Regions from separate parts of the Homo sapiens genome. Here regions 1 and 3 are each linked to region 2. Evidence: promoter capture Hi-C in 16 types of primary human blood cells and fetal thymus (Javierre and others, 2016). All regions are on one chromosome and are shown on one strand. Each heading gives the region's core, a stretch centred on a gene start or on the middle of the fragment in contact. The rest is flanking DNA. Distances are from core to core; before and after follow the strand shown.

Region 1 (2,700 bases), core at 109-2,608, 310 kb after region 2:
AGGGTCTCACTGTGTTGTCCAAGCTGGTCCTGAACTTCTGGGCTCAAGCAATCCTCCCGCCTTAGCCTCCCAAAGTGCTGGGATTATTGGCTGAGCCACTGTGCCCAGCCCATACTGTTTTTATAGTGGCTGGGCCATATCGCAGTCTTACCAATGGTGCACAAGGGCTTCGATTTCTCCACATCCTCATCAACCCTCGTTTTATGATTTTTGTTTTGTTTTTCAATAATGGCTATCCTAACAGGTATGAGGTGATTTCTCATTGTGGTCTTGATTTGCATTTCCCTGGTGATTAGTGATGTTGAGTACATTTTCATGTGCTTGTTGGCCACTTGTATATCTTCTTCGGAGAAATGTCTGTTAAAGGTCTTTCCTCATTTTTTTTTTTTTTTTTTTTTTTTTGAGAGGAAGTTTGACTCTTGTTGCCCAGGCTGGAGTGCAGTGGCGCGATCTCGGCTCACTGCAAGCTCCGCCTCCCGGGTTCAAGCTATTCCTCTGCCTCAGTCTCCTGAGTACCTGGGACTATAGGCACACACCACCACACTGGGCTTATTTTTTTTGTATTTCAGAGGAGACTGTGTTTCACCCTGCTGGCCAGGATGGTCTTGATCGCCTGACTTCGTGATCTGCCCGCCTCAGCCTCCCAAAGTGCTGGGATTACAGGCGTGAGCCACTGCGCCCGGCCAGGTCTTTCCTCATTTTTAGGTTGGGTTGTTTGTTTTTGTGGCTATCTATTAAATTTTCGATCCAACTTTTGATTCTGCCATTTACAGAGCACTGTATGTCAGGTATTGTGGGAAGCCCTTAACACACACAATCTCATTTTATCCTTACAACAGCCTTGAAACATAGATACAATAAGAATTCACATGTTACAGATGAGGCATCAAAGCACAGACAGGTTAAACTACATGCCCAAGGTCACATAGCTAGTAAGTGTCCGAGAGGGTCATCAGACCAGACCAATCTGATCCTAGTCCGGATCATAATCTAGAAGCCCTCACTGCATCTCACCACTGTGCAGGTTGATAGGGAGGCTGGGGCAGGGTCCTGTAGCAAATCACAAGGGTGTCTTCTCTATAGTCCAGTGTGCTGGGAAGACAACAGGTTGGGAGGTAGGATCCTGGGATCTGCTGATCTCAGTGCTGCTCCGACTGGCTGGGGAGCTTCTGGCACAGTCACCTCGTGGCGCTTGGCCTTAGTGAGAGCATTGAGTCAAGGGATGGGATGATGTTTTGAAAAAATAGTGTGTCAGAAAGGAAGTACTGCTAGGAGTCCCAAGGCTGGTGCATACATCATGCCGGCGTCTTCCCTCATCTCAGAACCCAGAGCCTGTCTCCTGGCTGGGGGCTCACAGAGGGTCCTGGCTGGTAGAAGTCTTGCTTTTGGTGTGTTAAACACCCACAGAGTTGGAGCAGAGAGGATGGGGAGCCTGGTGCTGGCCTCCTTGTTGGGACTGGCCTCTGCTGTACAGGGGTCTTCAGGAGGCAGAGGGATGGGGTGGAGGGGTTATATGGGTATAGAGAGTTGAGGCTTCCAGGCCCCACTTTGCCATACTAACCCATCAGACTGCAGGCAAGTTAAGCTCCAGGACATCTGATCAGCACCAATTCTTTCCCTTCCCTGGTTCCCTCTCCGCTTTGCCCCGTCTCACTCCACATGAGTACAACCCTAATGGCACCTCAGGAGAACACCTGTCTGCCTTGGAGGAGGCTCAGCCTGAATCTGAGCCTGTCTGCTCTCTGAGTCCAAACTAATGTTTAACCAGGAAGTACATTTCTGTTAGGAAGACTCTTCACTAAAGATGTGGACATCGAAGTTCAGGCAGGGCAGAGAGATTTGCCAGACTGGACTGTCCTGCCATCTAGTGGTGGGATAAGAGGATTAGCTAGCGTCCCCTCCAGCTGTGGCTGCCCTGGAGAGAACAGCAATTTTTTTGGAGGGTAAGAGAGGGAAGAGTGGTTTGGTAAATGCACCGTCATTACTTTAAGGCATAATCCATGGCAGTACGCTCTTAGTTGCTTGAGATATCTAACCAACTGTTGGGCAAAAAGCAGCATAAATTTTGGCACCTGCGAGAACACTGTAAGTTTTCTCTAAGGGGTCACCTACAAATGCCATCAGAGGTGGGACTTTGGAAATGTCGAAGTTTGGAACTCATATACTCAGAAGTCACTGGTTCTTGCTAACTTATATTGACACATCACAGTAGAGGTGGATTCTAAAGATTCACTCTAGGCCAGGCACAGTAGTTCACACCTGTAATCCTAGCAGTCTGGGAGGCCAAAGTGGGAGGATAACGTGAGTCCAGGAGTTTGAGACCAGCCTGAGCAACATAGTGACACCTCCTCTGTACTATTAAATAAAATTAGCTTGATGTGGTGGCATGCACCTGTAGTCCCAGCTACTTAGAAGCCTGGGTGCTTGAGCCCAGGAGTTCAAGATTTCAGTGAGCAGTGATTGTGCCACTGCACTCCAGCTGGGGTAACAGTGAGAGACCCTGTCTTAAAAAAAAAAATTAATTCTAGAGATGTGTTTTCTCTGATTTGATTTATTTTGGGAAACAAGTAGCTCTGAAACTAAAAAATAGTTACAGTGAAGACTCTAGAAATTCTGAAAATGATTACTGAAATTGTCCTACTGTTTCCATTTATTGGGAGCTGTATTCCTGAAATTGATGCAATAACGGAGATGTAGTGG
Region 2 (2,700 bases), core at 191-2,690:
CTCCAGTAACTTGCGGTTACTTCTTCTGTAATTGTTACCCTTGTCTAAATAACATTCTAAAATTGGTCTGCTCCTGAGCCCGGGCAAGTACAAGTTGGTTCATCCAATAAATATCTTCATGAAAAGGTACATCAAAACATTTTAAAAAGCTATTAAAAATTAAACGATGCCATCAACTCTTCAGTTATCCACAGGACAATCACATGTGACCCAGCATCAGCAGCTATTGATCAAGATATATTGAACGAATGAATGAATCTTTGTAGGCATTTTTAAATCCCGGGCCTGTTGCTCCTTGCACAGTGCCATGTTCAGCCTTCCATCACTGCCTCACCAGGGTGCACACAAGGAATGTAAATTTCAATATAATTAGGATATAATTAGAGAAGCAAATCTGATGCAGGTTTACATACTAATCCCAAAGATTAGAATTACCTATACTACTACTCTCCAAGGTTAACTCTGTGGAAGAGGCACCGCAGCATGCAACATCACATAAAGAAAACTGACACTTCCTGAGCAAATAGTTTTCGTCCATATCACTTATTCCCATCCATTCCTTTAATACATGACTATTCCTGATCCAGTTAATTTGAAGAATTCAGTCTCCTCTCCATAAAGGCTGATTTCACAACTACAGTTTCTCAAATTCCTCTCTCCCCAAAAAGGGGTGCACTTACGGACTTCGCTTAAGAAAACACCAACAATAAACGGCAGAAGGTATAGTGTTCGGATCTTTGCCATCTCCACCAGTACCCAGCCTTCGCCATTACACCCTGAAGCGGTCTGTTAGAAAGGTGAACTAATTTACTCTGCACGCACTTGTCCATGGCTGTCAACCTCCGCAGCCCCTTCTACACTTCCAAGTCGGCCACCAACTCCGCCTCAGTGAGCCCAGGCCCGCCACCTGCGCCGGCCCCACCCGGGGCACCGGCTGCCCGCTCTCCCTCGCAGGCCCTGTAGGCTCCGCACGCCCCTCCGCACAGGACACCTCGGGGCCAGCCCCGGCCCGGCCACAGCCCATTCTTCCTCCAAACTCCATAAGCCTCCGCTAGCCCAGCCCGAGCTCCCCGCCGCGCCCGGCTCTCTCCTGGGCTGCCGAGTGGAAGAGGCCAGGCGGCCAGGACGGGTCCCGACCTGCCCAGGCCTGCGACACCCCCCGCCCGGCGGAGAAACCGTCCCAGCGGCTGCTGCCCCGGGAGCCCTCGGAAGCCCCCGGACTAGCAGGAGCCCGGAGGCCGGGGTTGCAGGCGCCAGGGCCTACTCACCGGGAGCTGGCTAAGCGTGGGAGCCGACGTGCGCCCCGGCCTGAGGAGTGGGACGCGGCCACGGCGCGCGGCCCTACACCGGGACCTCGTTCGGCGCGGCGAGTCGGACGCTCACTCCAGCCGCCGCCGCCGCCGCGGCTGCTGCTTCGCCACCTTGGCCGCCATCTTGACTCAACCCCTCTCCCTCCCCCCAGCCCGCGGAGCCGCGGCTAAGGCGGCTCCAGCGCCGGCTCCTCCTCCTTCCGGAGAGTTGGGAGACCAACTCCCTCCGCTGGCCGGGCGCCTCTCCTACCTCGGCGGAGCTTCCCGGGTCGCGCTGCGCCCGGTCTCTTCATGTCTCCTCTAGGCCTGGCAGCGGCGGTCCTCTCGGACGGATACGGGGCCGAGCAGCGCCCAGCCGGATCCAGCGCTGCTGCCATCGTGCCCTGGGCTTGTGCGCCCCCCGCCTGCCCGTCTGTTCCGCGCGCCCGAGGCCTTCCTCAGGCGTGGGAAAAGGAAAAACTCCAGGCCGTGGAAGGGACCCTGCAAACCCCTCCGCGGCGTGGTGGGGCGGCGGCGGCCTCCTCTGGCCGGAGCTGCGTACAGGGAAGCCGGTCCCCTCGTGGCTGGGAGCTGGAGGGGTGCATTTCGACCTGCCCAAGATACTTTCTAGGGCTCTGGCTGGAATTCGCACCAAGCCCTCACTGAAATGCTGGGCGAGGCCGATTTGTCCACGATGTTGCTCCTTAACCTTAAGTTACTTGCAAGAGGAGCCTGTGGCCCTCGCGACTGTTAAGTGCACGCTCAGCCTCACCCTGCTGGGGAAACGACGGTTCCTCGTAACCGCACGCATACGTTCCTTTAGAAAAGCCAGGCCCGACCGGACGCAGTGGGTCACGCTTGTAATCCCAGCACTTAGGGAGGCCGAGGCGGGCCATCACTTAAGGTCAGGAGTTCGAGACCAGCCTGACGAACATGGAGAAACCCCGTCACTACTAAAAATACAAAAATTAAGCGGGCGTGGTGGCGCGCGCCAGTAATCCCAGCTACTGGGGAGACCGAAGTGGGAGAATTGCTTGAACGCGGGAGGCTGAGGTAGCAGCGAACCTAGGTCGCGCCACTGCACTCCAGCCTGGGCGACGGAGCCAGACCGTTTCAAAAAAAAAAAAGAAAGGGCCGGGCGCGGTGGCTCAGGCCTGTAATCCCAGCACTTTGGGAGGCCGAGGCGAGCGGATCACGAAGTCAGGAGTTCGAGACCAGCCTAGTTAACATGGTGAAACCCCCTCTCTACTAAAAATACAAAAATTAGCTGGGCGTGGTGGCGCGCGCCTATAGTCCCAGCTACTCGGGAGGCTGAGGCAGAAGAGTCGCTTGAACCCGGGAGACAGAGGTTGCAGTGAGCCGAGATCGCTCCACTGCACTCCAGCCTGGGCGACAGAGCCTCTCAAAAAAA
Region 3 (2,700 bases), core at 35-2,534, 260 kb before region 2:
GCTAATTTTTTGTATTTTTGGTAGAGATGGGGTTTCACCATATTGGCCAGGCTGGTGTCGAACTCCTGACCTCAAGCGATCTGCCTGCCTCGGCCTCCATAAATGCTGGGATTACAGGCGTGAGCCACGCCTCTGGGATTCTTAATAGGCAGATGGGGACGTCCCCTCCTTTCCTGATCACTGTTCTCTGACAGTTCCCAGTGCTTTCTCATTCTTTGTAAGAGTTTCTTCGCTTTTTTTCCTTTGTTCTTCTATTTTTCAATACAATTTTAGCATTCATATGTTTACTTTTGATGAAGACTAAGGGATTTTAAATTGACTTTGAAAAACATTTTTTAGATTCACATGGTTGAGATTCCTCGTGTGGCAGAGTGTACATAACCTAAACTCTTCCCCTCCCCCACCCGTTATCACTAGGTCTCTAGCCACAGCTTGGGGAGAGTGTGGGAGGGGGAGGGGATCAATGCCACAGCTCCCAAAGCTTGCCCACAGGCTGTCTTCCTCTTGACATCTGTTCTTTTCTTAATCCCATTCTGATCCCTGCTGTTTGCTAGACTGGAGCCTCTCATCCTGGCCATCCATGTTTCCAATTTAGGGTTCCATGGTTCATGCTGATGATCCTGTCCACCTTCTGTTTTTAGAAACTCATAAAAATCTCCGGTTTGCTGATATCATCCTCTACTTCTTTTTTTAGGATGATTATGTGTGTCTTTTTTTTTTTTTTTTTTTTTTTTGAGACAGTTTTGCTCTTACTGCCCAGGCTGGAGTGCAATGGTGCAGTCTTGGCTCACTGCAACCTCTGCCTCCTGGGTTCAAGCGATTCTCTTGCCTCAGCCTCCCAAGTAGCTGAGATTACGGGCACATGCCACCAACGATGCCCAGCTGATTTTTGTGTTTTTAGTAGAGACGGGGTTTCACCATGCTGGTCAGGCTGGTCTCAAACTCCTGACCTCAGGTGTTCTACTCGCCTCGGCCTCCCAAAGTACTGGGATTACAGGCATGAGCCACCGCACCCGGCCTGTGTGTCTTTACTGTCATTAAAATGTGATTTTGTGAGGAGTGATAATTAGGTGGAACTTGGAATGCCAAGGTACAATTTTAATCTGGAGTTTGATATGGTCAGGTTTGCATTGTAAAAGTCACTGGTGGACAGCTGAAGGAAGGAATGGACGGGACAAGATGATATAGGGTAGCCACTTGGCATCCAGATGAGAAGGAAAAAAGCATGACCAGGGCAGAGGCCATGGAGATGGCAGCAGACTCTACAGATATTGGAGACTCGTAGAACCACAATTTCTGCACCAGAGAAGGCTGATGTTTGATGCCAGCCATGGAGTTCAGCAGTCTGGAGCAGAGGAGCCACAGGTAAAATCATATAGGAAAGAGTCCTGAGAACCACAGATGGGCCCTGGAGCCACAATCAGTGAGTGACACCTAGAAATGTGGGTAGTTAGGGCCAGGCTGAGTGGAATTGATGTGCGTGAGATCTGCCATTGTGGAGCAGTAATGAGTCAGCATGAGTGACTGGCAAGCAGATCTGATCGATAGCACATAGTCGTGTGCTTCTGGCTGGAAGACAGGGCACACGGGACAGGTTCAAGAGGACTTGGTGACTCAGTTGGATGTGGACATGAAGGAGAAGAAGACTCCAGGATGACTCCCAGATTTCCGGTCGCCTGGGTGATGCCATCCTGAAGATGGGGGCTTTGGGAAGGTGTTGCCTAGGTTGTGTTTAAGGTGCCTGCAGGTTGAGAGACGCAGTAGTGGTCGAGTCTTGGGGAGTCTGGGGCTGCTAGTTCTTCCACCTGGCTCTGGACCCAACTCCTGCTTTATGGGAGCCCTGGACCGTTCATTATTCCTGCACAGCAGCCTCTTCCCTTCCCCATTTAAATGTGTTCAAACTCCTCCCACCCGTCTCCGCCCAACCTTCTTTGGTGTGCCACCTGTTTTGCGCCAGTCCCGCCACCTGCAGACTTCCCAAAGCAGCTTTCTGTCTATGACATCCTGATTTCCACTGCTGATTTTAGCACCACTGCTGAGTGTTTTTTTTTGTTTGTTTGTTTTGTTTTTTAAACATAGAGAACTACAAAGCTTTATTGAACGACATTGTAGAACCAGGACCTGTCAGGTACACTTCCTTTTTTTTTTTTTTTCTTGAGACAGAGTTTCACTCTTGTTGCCCAGGCTGGAGTACAATGGTGCGATCTTGGTCACCGCAACCTCTGTCTCCCAGGTTTAAACGATTCTCCTGCCTCAGCCTCGCGAGTAGCTGGGATTACAGGCGTGCGCCACTGCATCCGGCTAATTTTGTATTTTCAGTAGAGACAGGGTTTCTCCATGTTGGTCAGGCTGGTCTCAAACTCCCAACGTCAGGTGATCTGCCCACCTCGGCCTTCCAAAGTGCTGGGATTGCAGGCGTGAGCCACCACGCCCGGCCCAGGTACACTTCTTAAACTCTCCCTCCATTCACTTCTCTTAGGCCCCATCTCCACGTCTGCCCCATTCCAGGGCAGCATTCTCCTATCTGGTCTCTCCGCATCCATCCTTGTTCTTTTAGCCCATTCTTCACATAGCTGCAATCTTTCTGAAATGAACCCCTGTGTGCACCTCCTTCCTTTACCCAGTGCTCCCAGTGCCTTAGGATGTCATCCCAGATCTCTCCCTTGCCCCTACTCCCCACCTGGTCTGGGGCCTAGGTCT

What was found. Contacts are between HindIII fragments. The CHiCAGO score rates a contact against its expected background, and 5 or more counts as called.
Region 1: a contact is called between a fragment that was not itself captured here and the fragment with the promoter of NCOR1 in region 2, in 2 of 17 cell types (M2 macrophages and M0 macrophages). The highest score is 6.1, in M2 macrophages.
Region 3: a fragment that was not itself captured here is called in contact with the fragment with the promoter of NCOR1 in region 2 in 1 of 17 cell types (erythroblasts); the score reaches 5.6 in erythroblasts.

The regions. Positions count from the first base shown.
Region 1 is chr17:16,519,585-16,522,284 of GRCh38, forward strand. No RefSeq gene overlaps it. Among named protein-coding and RNA genes, the nearest start is that of LRRC75A, 29 kb to the left of the region's middle. RefSeq lists an enhancer at 1,708-1,757. The HindIII fragment of the contact is 3,853 bases long and covers 1-2,700 here.
Region 2 is chr17:16,214,094-16,216,793 of GRCh38, forward strand. It overlaps NCOR1 (nuclear receptor corepressor 1), which reads right to left and starts at 1,441. Exons shown (of 46, transcript NM_006311.4): 1 at 1,269-1,441. RefSeq lists enhancers at 237-1,153, 1,154-2,069, 1,647-1,706 and a silencer at 907-1,376. The HindIII fragment of the contact is 4,024 bases long and covers 1-2,700 here.
Region 3 is chr17:15,955,881-15,958,580 of GRCh38, forward strand. All of the region lies in intron 1 of ADORA2B (adenosine A2b receptor), which reads left to right. Among named protein-coding and RNA genes, the nearest start is that of ADORA2B, 12 kb to the left of the region's middle. The HindIII fragment of the contact is 1,610 bases long and covers 480-2,089 here.